Regions from separate parts of the Homo sapiens genome. Here regions 1 and 2 are each linked to region 3. Evidence: promoter capture Hi-C in human tissues and cell types (Jung and others, 2019). All regions are on one chromosome and are shown on one strand. The core of a region is centred on a gene start or on the middle of the fragment in contact, and the rest is flanking DNA. Distances in the headings are between cores, read along the strand shown.

Region 1 (4,457 bases), core at 107-2,606, 36 kb before region 3:
CTTAAGGACCATATTAAAATGACAGGAAGACAAGCAGCTAGGGTGATGTTTTGAGACTTAGAACTTGTTCATTATACTTATTTTTAGTAACTGTCTAGATCTGAAATATGACAGGAAGTGTTCATGAAAAGAACAAACCATACATGCTTTCTTGCTGCCTGTAGACTGTTCCCTCAGGTTATACCTAACTGTGTCTCTGTTCACAAATTTAGTCTAGTCACTTTTGCCACAACATATAAGAGATAGAGGAGAGTGTAGGTCCCCTCAGTCCTCCTGGTCTCTGGAATTGCAGAGGAGTAGTTAATCAAAATGAAATAATGCCTCCAAAAAGTTAAATCATCAGAACCAAAACTTACTTTGGGGCTAGATAATTCATCTTAGTCTACCCATGCCTTGTCCTGAACTCTAAGTTTTACTTTTCAGGTTTTATGGCTAGGAATTTAATGTCATGTCTTCTGTTTTTCTTTGTTTGTTTGAGACAGGGTCTGGCTCTGTCACCCAGGCTGGAGTGCGGTGGCACGGTCATGGCTCACTGCAACCTCCACCTCCTGGGCTCAAGCCATCCTCCCACCCTCAGCCTCCCTAGTCCCCTAGCTGGGACTACAAGCATGTGCCACCACACCTGGCTAATTTTTTAATTTTTTGTAGAGATGAGGTTTCACCATATTGCCCAGGCTGGTCTCCAATTCCTGGGCCCAAGCAATCCTCTCATCTAGGCCTCCCAAAGTGCTGGGATTACAGCCATAAGCCACTGCGCCTGGCTGTCTTCTGTTTTTCTTGACACATATTTTTGCTCCTGCCAGATTACTCATTGTCTCAAAACTTAACATTCACATTTCCTCTTCCATCTACTAGTTAATGCCACTTTCCCAGCCTGAAAATGTTCTCCTATTCCTCTGTATTTATCTAAATCCCACCATTTCTCCAAACTTTCCTTAAATTAAGGTCTAACTTCTGGAAATTATTTTAGGTAACTGATTTTTCCCCTTTCTGAACCTCTAGGAGGAAGCACCATGCCCTTTGCACTGCATTCTTGTCATATAAGATATTGTTGGCTTGTTTAGAAAATAAAGAGCTGGCTGGGCACAGTGGCTCATGCCTGAATCCCAGCACTTTGGGAGGCCAAGGCGGGCAGATCACAAGGTCAAGAGTTCAAGACCAGCTTGGCCAACATGGTGAAACCCCATCTCTACTAAACATTCAAAAATTAGCCGGGCGTGGTGGCGTGCACCTGTAATCCCAGCTACTAGGGAGGCTGAAGCAGGAGAATTGCTTGAACCCAGGAGGTGGAGGTTGCAGTGAGCTGAGATCGCGCCATTGCACTCCAGCCTGGGCGATAGGGCGAGACTCCATCTCAAAAAACAAAGAAAAAAGAGCTGGGCGCGGTGGCTCATGCCTGTAATCCCAGCGCTTTGGGAGGCCGAGGCGGGTGGATCACGAGGTCAGGAGATGGAGACCATCCTGGCTAACAAGGTGAAACCCCGTCTCTACTAAAAATACAAAAAGTTAGCCGGGCGTGGTGGCGGGCGCCTGTAGTCCCAGCTACTCAGGAGGCTGAGGCAGGAGAATGGCGTGATCCCGGGAGGAGGAGCTTGCAGTGAGCCAAGATCGCGCCACTGCACTCCATCCTGGGCGACAGAGCAAGACTCCATCTCAAAAAAAAAAAAGAAAAAAGAAAGAGCTAAGTGTAGTAGGTCATCACAACTTTGCTTTGATAAGCCTCTGGTCTCCATGATTGTTCAGCTTACTGATTACTTAGTCACAGGATCTGATTCCATTCGGAACAAGCTTGAACCAGCAGGAAACGCAGTTCCGGGAGAGAGATTTGTGAATTCCTGCTGACTGGAACCCAGCCAGGAGGAGCCTCCTTCAATAAATGACAAATGAAATGGTTTCCTACCTGGGAACTGTGTATTTAGGATTGATTAGCTGACGTAACAACCAGGTCAATTTAACTTGAGGAAAGAGATTACCTGCCCTTTCCTGCTAGTATAAAGCCCTTTGCTCTGGTTGATTGAGTTTATAAACCACCTTATTTCAATGTTCCTTGTAGCCGCTACTTCAAGACATAATTGGCAAGTGAGCTAACTCCATTTGGCACCAAACCAGAGCTTGGAGTTAATGTCACTTAGAAAGACATTTCTGTGTTGGTTATAGCATAAAAAAAAGGCAAAGAGTTCTAACAGATTTGCCCCAGTAAAAGTACATTACCCCTGACAAGGCACTAGGGAAATTATACAGATAACTCCTTTCACTTTGATGCCGAACAAAAACTGACACACCTATAGAAAGGTAAACTCAGAAGCATTCTAATGTATAAAACTTAAAATTTCTTCTTATTGGTGACTTAGCAATAATCATCTCTAGACCCAAGTTTACTTTTCTTGTTAATTAGTAATATTTGTCTGCCTTTCATTGTTGGAGCTGTTAGTTGACTTAAGTTTAAGGATATTAAGGAGGCAGGATATGGAGTGGAACATGAAGCTAGAATATATAAACTCCTTTGGAAGATTGTCCTATAATGTGTTGATGAAAAATGCCAACAGGATACACACTCAGCTTCTCTTTTAAATAAAAAGTTTCCATTTTATGAAAGTCAAAAGGTATTTTTTAAAAGGAGAAATGGGTAAGAGAAAAAGATTATCAAGAAATTTGAGATTATATATCACAGAAAGTCATGTAAGTTTATGGTTAAGGTTTTGAAATTTTTCCTGATTCCTCTATGTCCTTTTATTGGCGCGTTTTTTTTTTTCCTGTTTCTTTTCTTTCTTTCTTTCTTTTTTTTTTTTTTTTTTTTAAGACAGGGTCTCTGTTGACCATACTGGAGTGTAGTAGCGCCATCGTGTCTCACTACAGCCTCCCAGGCTCAAGGGATCCTCCCACCTCAGCCTCTTGAGTAGCTGGGACTACAAGGCGGGTGCAACCATGCCCAGCTAATTTTTCTATCTTTTGTAGAGATGGGGTTTTGCCACATTGCCCAGGCTGGTTTTGAACTCCTGGGCTCAAGCGGTCCTCCTGCTTCAGCCTCCCAGAGTGCTGGGATTACAGGTGTGAGCCACCTCGCCCAGCTCAGAGCTTTTTTTTTTAACGTTAAATCAAGCTTAGTCTTACCGAAGGCTTTTAAGTCCTTACATTTAAAGGCCACATATAGATGCTGAAAACTTAGGAATCATTTTATGAACCAAACTACCTGCAAAATATTATCTCCAAAAATATCTAAAATGTGTAGAAATAAAGGAATGTGCTAATGTAATATGTATTATCAAAAATGTACATAGCACTGTAGTTCTAAATCATTCTTTGGTTTTTGAAGCTTAGTTTGTTGATATCTTGTTTCTACTAGTACTTGACACCATGGTTCTTGATATTTTTTTATTTAAAATTTAACTCTAACCATCTGTGAAAATAATTACAGGTTGAGTATCCCTTATCTGAAATGCTTAGGACTAGAAATGTTTTAGGTTTTTTATTTTTATTTTTTTCAGATTTTGGAATGTCTGCAGAAACTAGTTGAGCATCCCTAATCTAAAAATTCAAAATCCAAACTGCTCCAATGAGTATTTTCTTTCAGTGTCATGTCAGTGCTCAAAAAAGTACAGCTTTTGAAGCATTTTGGATTAGGAATGCTCAACCAGTAATAACATATGAAGAATATTTTACTGAACATGTTCAGTTATATTATTGGATTTTTTTAATCCTGATTTCTTTTCCACAAAGTAGGTATTGTTAATTCTGTTTTACTGAAAATAAATGTATGTCTTAGGTTAAGCAATTTGCCTAAGTTGCAGATCCAATATTTGAATGTATATATTCAGACTTATTAACCTATGATTTTCATCTCATACCTCATTGATGGCTCACTTCCCCACTAAAGCTTGGCAAGGCTAGAGACTGTTGGTACATGTCATATTACAGACAGTTCCCTACTTATGATGGTTCAACTTAATAATTTTCCAACTTTATGATGGTATGAAAGTGATACACATTCAGTAGAAAGCATACTTTGTATACCCATACAACCATTTTGTTTTTCACTTTTAGTGTAGTGTTTAATAAATTACATCAGATATTCAACACTTCATTATAAAATAGGTGTTGTGTTAGATGACTTTGCCCAACTGCAGGCTAATATAAATGTTCTGAGCATGTTTAAGGTAGGCTAGGCTAAGCTTTGATGTTCAATAGGTTAGGTATATTAAATGCATTATCAACTTAAGATATTTTCAATTTGCACATGCCTGTAATCCCAGCACTTCGGGAGGCTGTATTCGTCTGTTCTCACACTGCTAATAAAGACATACTCAAGACTGGGTAATTTATCAAGGAAAGAGTTTAATTGACTCACACTTCTACGTGGCTGGGAAGGCCTCACAATCATAGCTGAAGGCAAAGGAGGAGCAAAGTCACATCTTACATGGTGGCAGCCAAGAGAGCTTGTGCAAGGGAACTCTCATTTA
Region 2 (4,713 bases), core at 413-2,912, 58 kb before region 3:
GTCACTACCCGAGTATGCTGGACTAGCAGCCTGGCCCCCAGCCTTCAGAAGGTCCTCCCTGGCCTGACAGTGGGGCCTAACCAGGGACCCACCCCCTTCTGCCCAAGAATCTGCCTGCCTCCTGCTGCCATTCATAGCACCCTGGCTCAGCCAACTTTGCTGAGACTGGAGCAGGTGCCGACAACAGGGAGAAGCCAGACAAGCAGGAGCAGGCACTTCCTAGCCTGTGAGGGCAGGGAGGCCTTCCTGTGGCCTCAAGAGTACACGGATGCCTGAGTGTGCAGCTATGGTTTGGACAGCTACAGCTGGGAGATGGGGGGCTCCTGCCTGCTTCATGGAGCGGGAGGCCTGAGTCTACAGCCACAGTTTTGGCAGTGGCACCTGGGGAGTTCCTGCCCCAACTCAGAAGGGGTAGGGCTCCTGCTCCCCCTGCCACCCACTTTCAGGCTCCACTGAGTGTGTATCCCTGCTGGCCTGGTGGTGCCTCCCTGCTGCAGCCAGTATGATGTGAATAATGTTAGTACTCAACTTACTTTATGTATGTGTAAGGAATATCAGTAGATTATAGCAAGAATCTGAGATCCTTAGAAGAAAGGCTATATATCAAGGTACTGTTAAAATAATGGCAACTTGAGAACTAGTATATTTGGTGAGTTACACAGCACTAATGTAAAGCATAAAACCTGGACTGCCTTTTTGATTCTACAGTAGGATTTACTGTGTGACTTTGGGCAAGGAGTAGTACCGTGACTGATTTTCTCATCACTATGAGATTAAGAGAGGATATTCTGGGAGGGATTATAATTCCATTTTTCTCCTTGCTTGTCAGAGGGAATAATTTGCCATTATGTTAACAAAAGAAAGATACAAGCAATCCAAAACTGTTAAGTTTTTGGTTGTTGAATTCAGATACAAATTCAGTAACCCCCATGAGAATCCTTAGACTTACTCCATACCTGGGTTCCACCCCCTCTACACTTGTCTCTATGGTGAGCAGCCTAGAATTTGGGCATAGGCTTTTCCATGATGGAGATAATCTGCTCATGGATAATTGTATCAAATTCACTTCAGTACCTCTAAGAGCCTTACTGTGTGTTCATATTAGCTCTGCCATACCTCTTTAGATAGCACCCAAGGTGGTAGAGCTTTTAATAATTTTCACTCCATAATAATGTTATTGTGGAGGTCTAGCATATGTATTTAGTATTGTACAGTTAGATAAATTAATGCATTGTTGTTATATTGAGATGATTATTCTTTTTTTTTAATCAGTCTCTTGCACTAGACAGTAAAACTCTAAGAGGGCAGGAAACGTTTCTTGTTCACCGTTGTATCCTAGTGTATCTCAACGCCTACAGCAGTACATGGATGTACAAAACACCTCTTAGAGACCTTGGTGACATTTCTTTTGTGTGTATACCAAGAAGCAGAATTGCTGCATCATGTGGTAGTTCTATGTTTTATCTTTTAAGGAACCAACATGTGGTTTTTATTGGGGCTGTACCATTTTACATTTCCACTAGCAGTGCCCCAGAATTCCAGTTTTTCCACATTCTTGCCACACTTGTTGTTTTCTGTTTTTTTTTTTTAATAAATAAATATGCACCCTGGGTATAAATATAATCAGAACTTTAAACAAAATTAATTCTAAAACACTTAGTACAGTATGATCTTCAGGTTAAATTATAAATTAACAGCAGAATGAGACTGTGTTTTAAAGCTTGTCAAGACACCTGTTCAAGGTTGATTTAATACATGGAATAATCAGGCTCAGCTATTTCTATGTCATTCTCAGTGCCTAAAAACAACTTTTACCTAATTTTTGAAGCCAGCAAAAACAATAATAACAAAACCTGTAGTATTTACAAATATGTCATTTGTACTGTAAATAACATACTTTTTCTCAAATATACCTGAATGTGTGCTATTTGAAATAATTCCAACCAGCCTGACCAACATGGTGAAACCCTGTCTCTACTAAAAATACAAAAATTAGCCAGGCGTGGTAGCGCGTGCCTGTAATCCCAGCTACTGGGAATGCTGAGGCAGAAGAATGGCTTGAACCCGGGAAGCGGAGGTTGTAGTGAGCCAAGATCACAGCACTGTACTCCCCGCCTGGGCAACAGAGCGAGACTCCGTCTCCAGAAAAAAAAGAAAGAAATAATTCCAAAAAAACTTCTGAAATGGTTCCTGATAGAGTGAAATAAATAAGAAAGCTCAACAAGCTCAAGGCTTCCTCATTTTTTTTTTTTTTTTTTTTTTTTTTGGAGATGGAGTCTTGCTCTGTCGCCCAGGCTGGAGTGCAGTGGCTCATTCTCAGCTCACTGCAACCTCTGCCTCCCGGGTTCAAGCAATTCTCCTGCTTCAGCCTCCCCAGTAGCTGGAATTACAGGTGCCTGCCACCATGCCTGGCTAATTTTTGTATTTTTAGTAGAGACGGGGTTTCACCATGTTTGCTGATCTCGAACTCCTTACCTCAAGTGATCCGCCCGCCTCAGCCTCCCAAAGTGCTGGGATTACAGGTGTGAGCCACTGCATCTGGCCTAGGCATCCTCATATTCTTTATGAATCTTGCCTGAGAATTTTTTTTTTACCTGAACACCCAGGATTAGAGAATATTTAGCAGCACTTTTTCCTTAAAAATGTGTTTCTGATAGAATACATGCTCTCTTATCACAGCTAAATATTAATAAAAAGATGAAATCCTGCCTTATTTCTTACCAATAGAATTAGGTAAATCTTAAGCTTTCTTTTCATGAAAAAATAAGTTTAAAAATCACTAAGTATTGATGGGAATTAAAAATTACTTTCTGTATAATACTAAGAGACATTTAGGTGCCAGTTGATTAAAGTAAGGTTTTGAATCTACTTGAGGTGTTGGTTTAAGTTTAAAAAGGCAGTATCAGCTAGTGAGTAGACAAATTAAGATGTTAGATTATTGCTTTATCTTTTTGGTGACCTCATGTCATAGAATATAAATGCAAAATTGTCATTTGTGCCCTCCTGACCTATGTAGACCATCTCAGTGCCTCCCATGCCCTCTGGCTTACTTAAGTTTGGCCACTGGGCAGCATTGGCAGGAGATTCCGAGGAAGGGAGGAGAGTAAGGTAGGGGACTTTTATTCCTCTAATCTTTCTCTGAGGGGTAGCTGTGGGCTGAGTGTGTCCTTTGGCCAAAGGTCACAGCAACTGTCTGATGGCGCTTTCTATACCAGATGAAACAAAAATAAAAGGGCCCTTTCTGTCTTTGGCTCCTGTAACTGCTTCCTCCTCACACTCAAGTCTCAAGTAGCAGTGCACATTGCTTAAAAGCCAGCAAAAACAGTAACAAGAGGTACAGCCCTATCTTGGGTGGTTTCCCTACTCTTTGCTAACACCTTTGAAAATACTCCTATTATTAAACTCTATTAAGATTGCCCAATTTGAGTATGCCATTCGCTTCCTCTTTGGGATCTTGACTGAAATAGCTGCTTTATATATTTTTAATCATTATCCTAACAGTATTCCAGATAAACCCTAATTATACTAATTTATTTTGGCCAATAATTGAGTGTTTGCAGAACTACCCTTTGTTTTTTGTTTGTTTTTTGAGACAGGATCTCTCTCTGTCACCCAGCTGGAATGCAGTGGTGCATTCACGACTCATTGCAGCCTCAACCTGCCAGACTCCAGCTGTCTTCCCGCCTCACCCTCCCAATTAGCTGGGGCTACAGGCAAGTGCCACCATGCCCAGCTAATTTTTCTCCTTTTTATAGAGGCAGGGTTTCACCATATTGCCCAGGCTGCTCTTGAACTTCTGGGCTCAAGCGATCCACCTGCCTTGGCCTCCCAAAATGTTCGGATTATAGGCGTGAACCACCACACCCAGCCTTTCCTTTGTTTTTCTTGCAGTTTGTGTCATCTAGTATGTTGTTAAAGGAAAAAAAAAAAAAAAACAGAGCTAGATAAGAGGCTAGTAATAGAACCCAAAATGCTGTTTTGTGTTCCCTCTTTTCCCTAAAAGAGATTGGTGGTTTGATTCACTAATAAGTGGATTATTGATGTCCTTCATATCATTCCCACTGCTCATTAATACCTCTTTGGGGGAGGATACATTAAAACATTCGAGTTATATCATTTGGCTGATCTATAGGAATTCTGAGAAGGTTCTAAATAGTGCTTTGGTTCTATAAGATCTTCGTTTTTGTAGACTGTGTCTCTTTTCAATTAATAAAGATAATTGGGAGTTAACCATATTATATAGTCATCTAGAAAACTGAAGCTTAAATACTGTTTGTATAAGTGTTACCCGATTTTTCATTTGAGTAGCAGTCTAGAAATGGCCGGTATTAACAAAAGTTAAATCTAAATTAATTCAAGGTTCAAGATTAAGCCATGAAAGAATCTTTAATTGAAACATATCTGTAATAACAGCAAAATAATTTGGAAAGTGTACTAGAGTATTACCGTGGTTTTTTTGTACCCCTTTTCTTAACATTTTTCCTTTTACTTGCCTTGTTGAAATTCTAACTCCTAAGCTACTTCCAAGTACAGTGCAGAGATCAGTAATATTGTTATCACCTGGGAGTAAAAATCTGCCACAGGCCAGACTGCTGAATCACAACCTACATTTTAGCATAAGATTCCCTAGGTGGTAAGTATGCACATCAGAATTTGAAAAGCACTCTAACCATTTCCTGAGATTTTATCTTATTGGGTTAAAACAAAGCTATT
Region 3 (4,779 bases), core at 806-3,305:
CACTCATTGAATCCTCATTACGACCCTCTGATGTTATTATTAGCATCCGCATTTTACAGATGAGAGAACTGAGTCAGAGAAGGGTTAATAACTTGCCTTTAAAAATCACACAGACAGGCCAGGTGTGGTGGCTCTCGCCTGTAATCCCAGCACTTTGAGAGGCTGAGGCGGGCAGATCACCTGAAGTCAAGAGTTCGAGATGAGCCTGGCCAACATGGTGAAACCCAATCTCTACTAAAAATACAAACATTAGCGGGGCGTGGTGGCGCATGCCTGTGGTCCCAACTACTTGGGAGGCTGAGGCAGGATAATTGCTTGAACTTGGTCGGCATAGGTTGCAGTGAGCAGAGATAGCTCCAATGCACTCCAGCCTGGGCGACAGAGGGAGACTCCGTCACAAAAAAAAAAAAAAAAAAAAAAAAATTCACACAGACCAAAATTAAAAAAAAAATTTAATCACAGGGACAGCAAGTGGCAGACCTGGTTCCCAAGTGGGTGGGTGATTTCAATTGTGGCCTTATCCTGTCTCAAAGTGAACTGACTCCTAAAATGTCCTTCTTTTTAGTAGACAGCTGGACCGCCGCCTGGAGAGGAAGCCTTGAACGGCTGGGGGAGGGGATTACTTTACAGCCAGGATCCAGCCAAGGCTGGGGATGAGATGGGAGTAGGATCTCCCGACTCCTTAGGGTCACTCCTCAGGGTCACTCCTCGTCCTGGGGACCAGATTCCAGGCTTCACAGGACCGGAGAAGGAGGAGCGCGTCCTCCCTTCCCAAAGCGCCAGCTCATTTAGATACAGGTGCCTGGGGCTTTGGCTCTCGTCGCTGATGAGGGGTAGCATCTTTCTGATGCTGGTGACTGTGAGTGCGTCTCGAGGGATGGGGGTGCTGAGCCTACCGCTTCGCTCGTTAGGGAACAAATTGCTGTTTTGGCCCCGGCGGCTCCTCTGGGCGCGGGCGGCAGCCGCGCTCGCTGGCAAATCGTGGGAGGGAGGAGGAGCGGCGCTGGCAGGCAAGTCCGGGGGACCGTCGCAGCGCGGGAGGCCAAGAAAAGACGGCCGCCCCGGGCCCGGCTCCGCCCCGCCGGGAAGGGGCTCCCTGCAGCCGCCCCAGGGCAGCACCCCGCGCGGCGCCGCGCGGAGCTCTCCAGGACGAGCTGCGTGAGGCGCGGGGCTCGGCCTTCCTCGCTCTCCTGGTGCCAGGACCCGCACGCACAAGGTTCGGAAGTTTTTTCGCAGTGTCTGACCCCTGCCGGTCCCCTGTATTTACCACCTGACCCTCTAGCGCGCTTAGGAGAGGCAAGAGGTGACAAATGCCAGAGGGAAATGGAGGGGCAGGACAAGGGGTCTGGCGCTCCCCTCCCCACCACACACCCTTTCCGCCCACGGGGTCACACGGAGGACGTCTGACCCTTACTCCTAGGGCTACCCACCCTCTGGTTTCCAGGCAGCTCCTGCTTGCGGAGACACCTCATAGGAGCAGCTGGATCCATTTTCCAGAGCGTCAAGTTGAGGATGAGAAAGTCTCGAGGGCCGGGCAGCTGTGCGCGCAGAACCCCCGCCCCATCTGCTTTTAGATTTCCCGGGTGCGGCTGGAGCCCCTCTAGAGCGCCGGCCTCCGCTGGCCGCAGGGCCTTCACCTGCGCCTGTCGCCCTGTCCCCTTGCCCACTGCATTTTCCTCGGGGAGAGCATCTTCCACAGCATGCGTCCCCTGCCCCCCACGCCCCGAGCCCCCCTCCCATTCCGCCGGGGGAGGAGAGGCTGCTAGGAGGCTCTCGGAGAGCCCCCGGGCTGCAGAGAAAGACGCCTCCCCTCTGCGGCTGAGGCCGAGTGAGCCAAAGGGGGCCGGCCGCTCGCCAGTGGTTCTCCGAGGTACGGGCGGGGAGGCCCGCGGGGTGGGATCAGGGCGGCCGCCACCTCCCCGCCCCCGCCGAGGTCCCGAAGGGAGGGGAGCCCTCCGCGGGAGGCCTGTCCCTTTAAGGAGGCGGCCCTGGCTGGGTGTGCCCCGTCTCCATGGTTACCCCGGTGCAGGCGGCGGGCGCGGGAGGGAGGGAGGGAGGCTGCAGCTTCTCCCCGACAGACGGAGGGAGCTGCCGAGAGCCGGCGCCGAGCGAAGCCGAGCGGAAGCCCACCCGCAGCCGACACGCGAGCCGCTGCCGCGGCGGGAGGTGCTGAGAGCGCGGCGGCCGCGGGGCCTGGAGCCCGGGATTTGTGGGCGGCGAGGGCGCGAGGGGCCGCGCGCCATGCTCCGGGCCCCGACGGCGCGGACGCCCCCTCGCGCGCCAGCGTCCGGCGCGACCCCGGATCCCGGTCTGCGCATTGCCCCCCGACGGCTGCGCTAGGGAGCGCGGGGCCCGGCGGGGGGCGGCCGAGCTGGGCGCCCTCCCCCGGCGCGGAGTCCCCGCACCCCGGAGGGATGGGGCGGGCAGCCGCGGGCGCCTAAGATGCCGGCCATGCGGGGCCTCCTGGCGCCGCAGAACACCTTCCTGGACACCATCGCTACGCGCTTCGACGGCACGCGTGAGTCCGACCCTCGCCCACTTGCACCCGGGCCGCCGGACCCTCGCCAGGGCTCCCGCCTTCCCCGAACCCCCAGCAGCCCAGCTTGGCGCCAGCCTATTCTCACCCTCTCCTCCCTACCCGCCCCTCTTGAGGCTGGGGCCATCGTCTCCTGCTAGGCGCTGTTTCCCCGAAGGTTCGAAGGTTCGGGGTCAACACTGCTTCAGGCGAGGCAACAGGGCCAGAAGTCCCTGGGTGTGGGTCCTGGGATGCTCTCTGTTAGCCGGGTCTCGAACCCGAACCTAGTCAGTCTGACCCATCCCACCCCTGCGTCTGGCGCTGTCGCAGCAACTACCCTCGGACTGGTGGGGTAAGGCGAGGCGGGTGAACAGTGCTCAGGGACAGCTGAGAGGGCTCAAAACACAGATTTAGAAAAGAGATTTGCAAACGGAGATAAGAGTAGGCGGCACTCGGGAGAGCACCGTGTGTCCAAGCCCCGTGTCTCATAGCCTGAACCCCCTAGACTTGGGGAGGCCATCTAGCCCCAAGAAGATGGTTTGGGGACTCCCATCAGGACTGGGGAAGTTTGGAGAAGGCGCCCCGAGCTCTGGATCCCCGGTTCTGGGGGCTCTGAGCACAGGGGAAGTGATGAAAGCCCCTCCCTCCTCCTCTCCCTCACATCCCCCGTGGGGCTTCCCAGCTCTCTGCCTAGGTCCTCCTTGGTCTCCGGTTCCTGATAGGGGGTGGGAGCCCAGCCCTGCGCTCTCCCCACTCCGGGCTCCTCCATCTGCTTTGCCAGTGTGCTTGGCTCCTGCAGCCTGCTGATTCAGTGCCCCCCACTCCCCAATACATTCCTGGCTCCTGGCTCCCGTGCTCAGTCACCATTCTTACACCCCCATTCTTGATCACATTCACTAATTCCTGAGCCAGGTCAGGCAGCTAGGGCTAAAACACAGACAGCAGGATGTATGGTGGTCTGGGGTTGCCTCCAGTCTAGGTGTGTCTCAGTGGGAGAAGCCAGACAGCCAACCTGGGTACCTGGCTAGTGGGTGAGCCTGGCAGAAGTAGAGGTGGGGCTGAGGCTGGCCCAGAGCTGGCAGGGCAGTCCTCATTAGGGATTCCCCAATCCCAGCCCTTACCCCACATTGCTCAGGACACCCTCCAGAAGGCACAGTGCCCGCACAGCGCTTCATTCACCGACCTCAGTTCACATGTGCTGATCCTTGAATGTACTCACACCTGCTGCAGGGCACTGACAAACAGGTGACACACACTGATTGCTATTCATAAACAGCCCTGCCTTAACACACGCAGGATTCCTGGGGTTTGGAAAACCCACTCTTTGGTTGCAGGCATTTGAGAAAGGAGGGGTGGTAGGCCTCCTGCCCCTTCACCCCACGCCTCCTCTGAGAAGTGCTCTCTTGCAGACAGTAACTTCGTGCTGGGCAACGCCCAGGTGGCGGGGCTCTTCCCCGTGGTCTACTGCTCTGATGGCTTCTGTGACCTCACGGGCTTCTCCCGGGCTGAGGTCATGCAGCGGGGCTGTGCCTGCTCCTTCCTTTATGGGCCAGACACCAGTGAGCTCGTCCGCCAACAGATCCGCAAGGCCCTGGACGAGCACAAGGAGTTCAAGGCTGAGCTGATCCTGTACCGGAAGAGCGGTGAGGGGCCACCTGGCCAGCCTGCCTCACCTTTGCAGTCTCACCCAGCCTGGCACCAGCCCCATCCACTGTCCCTCCTCCTTTCTGTTGCCATCTTCTCCATCTCCCCATGTCATCCCATCTTCCCATCCCCCCATCCAACCCCTCTTGCTCCATCCCACCTCTTGCCCCGGCTCCCCATCTCTACCTGCCTCACCCTAGCCTCAGCCTGCATTCAGTTCCAACCTCGGGTTTCCCGCATCCAACAGAAAAACATCCGCATTTCGGCAGGGCAGATCTACCACACGACAGGTCTGACCGTCATGTTTGCTCTCCCTTGCTTCCTTCCCCCAATTCCATCAAGCCCTGCCTTCAGTGAAACTGGACTGCCAGCCCTTCCCCCAGGAAACCGCTAGATCCTGCCTGTGTCTTGCCCGGGATGTCAGTGGAGCCAGGGCCTCTGTCACCTCAGGCAGTGCTGAGAATAGGAGGTGGGCTGAGTTTGTTTTTGTGCCCAGGGCTCCCGTTCTGGTGTCTCCTGGATGTGATACCCATAAAGAATGAGAAAGGGGAGGTGGCTCTCTTCCTAGTCTCTCACAAGGACATCAGCGAAACCAAGAACCGAGGGGGCCCCGACAGATG

What was found. Contacts are between HindIII fragments. The study calls those that stand out against the background at their distance.
Region 1: a fragment that was not itself captured here is called in contact with the fragment with the promoter of KCNH3 in region 3 in 1 of the 25 tissues and cell types used here (mesenchymal stem cells).
Region 2: a contact is called between a fragment that was not itself captured here and the fragment with the promoter of KCNH3 in region 3, in 2 of the 25 tissues and cell types used here (liver and lymphoblastoid cells).

The regions. Positions count from the first base shown.
Region 1 is chr12:49,501,994-49,506,450 of GRCh38, forward strand. The region is part of intron 9 of SPATS2 (spermatogenesis associated serine rich 2); the gene reads left to right. Among named protein-coding and RNA genes, the nearest start is that of KCNH3, 35 kb to the right of the region's middle. The HindIII fragment of the contact is 3,700 bases long and covers 1-3,206 here.
Region 2 is chr12:49,479,219-49,483,931 of GRCh38, forward strand. All of the region lies in intron 3 of SPATS2 (spermatogenesis associated serine rich 2), which reads left to right. Among named protein-coding and RNA genes, the nearest start is that of KCNH3, 57 kb to the right of the region's middle. RefSeq lists an enhancer at 94-681. The HindIII fragment of the contact is 3,681 bases long and covers 1-3,503 here.
Region 3 is chr12:49,536,975-49,541,753 of GRCh38, forward strand. KCNH3 (potassium voltage-gated channel subfamily H member 3) reads left to right here and starts at 2,056. Exons shown (of 15, transcript NM_012284.3): 1 at 2,056-2,518; 2 at 3,925-4,158; 3 at 4,656-4,779. The coding sequence starts at 2,443. RefSeq lists silencers at 1,017-1,136, 1,867-2,046 and enhancers at 1,364-2,175, 2,176-2,985, 3,630-3,679. The HindIII fragment of the contact is 20,416 bases long and covers 1-4,779 here.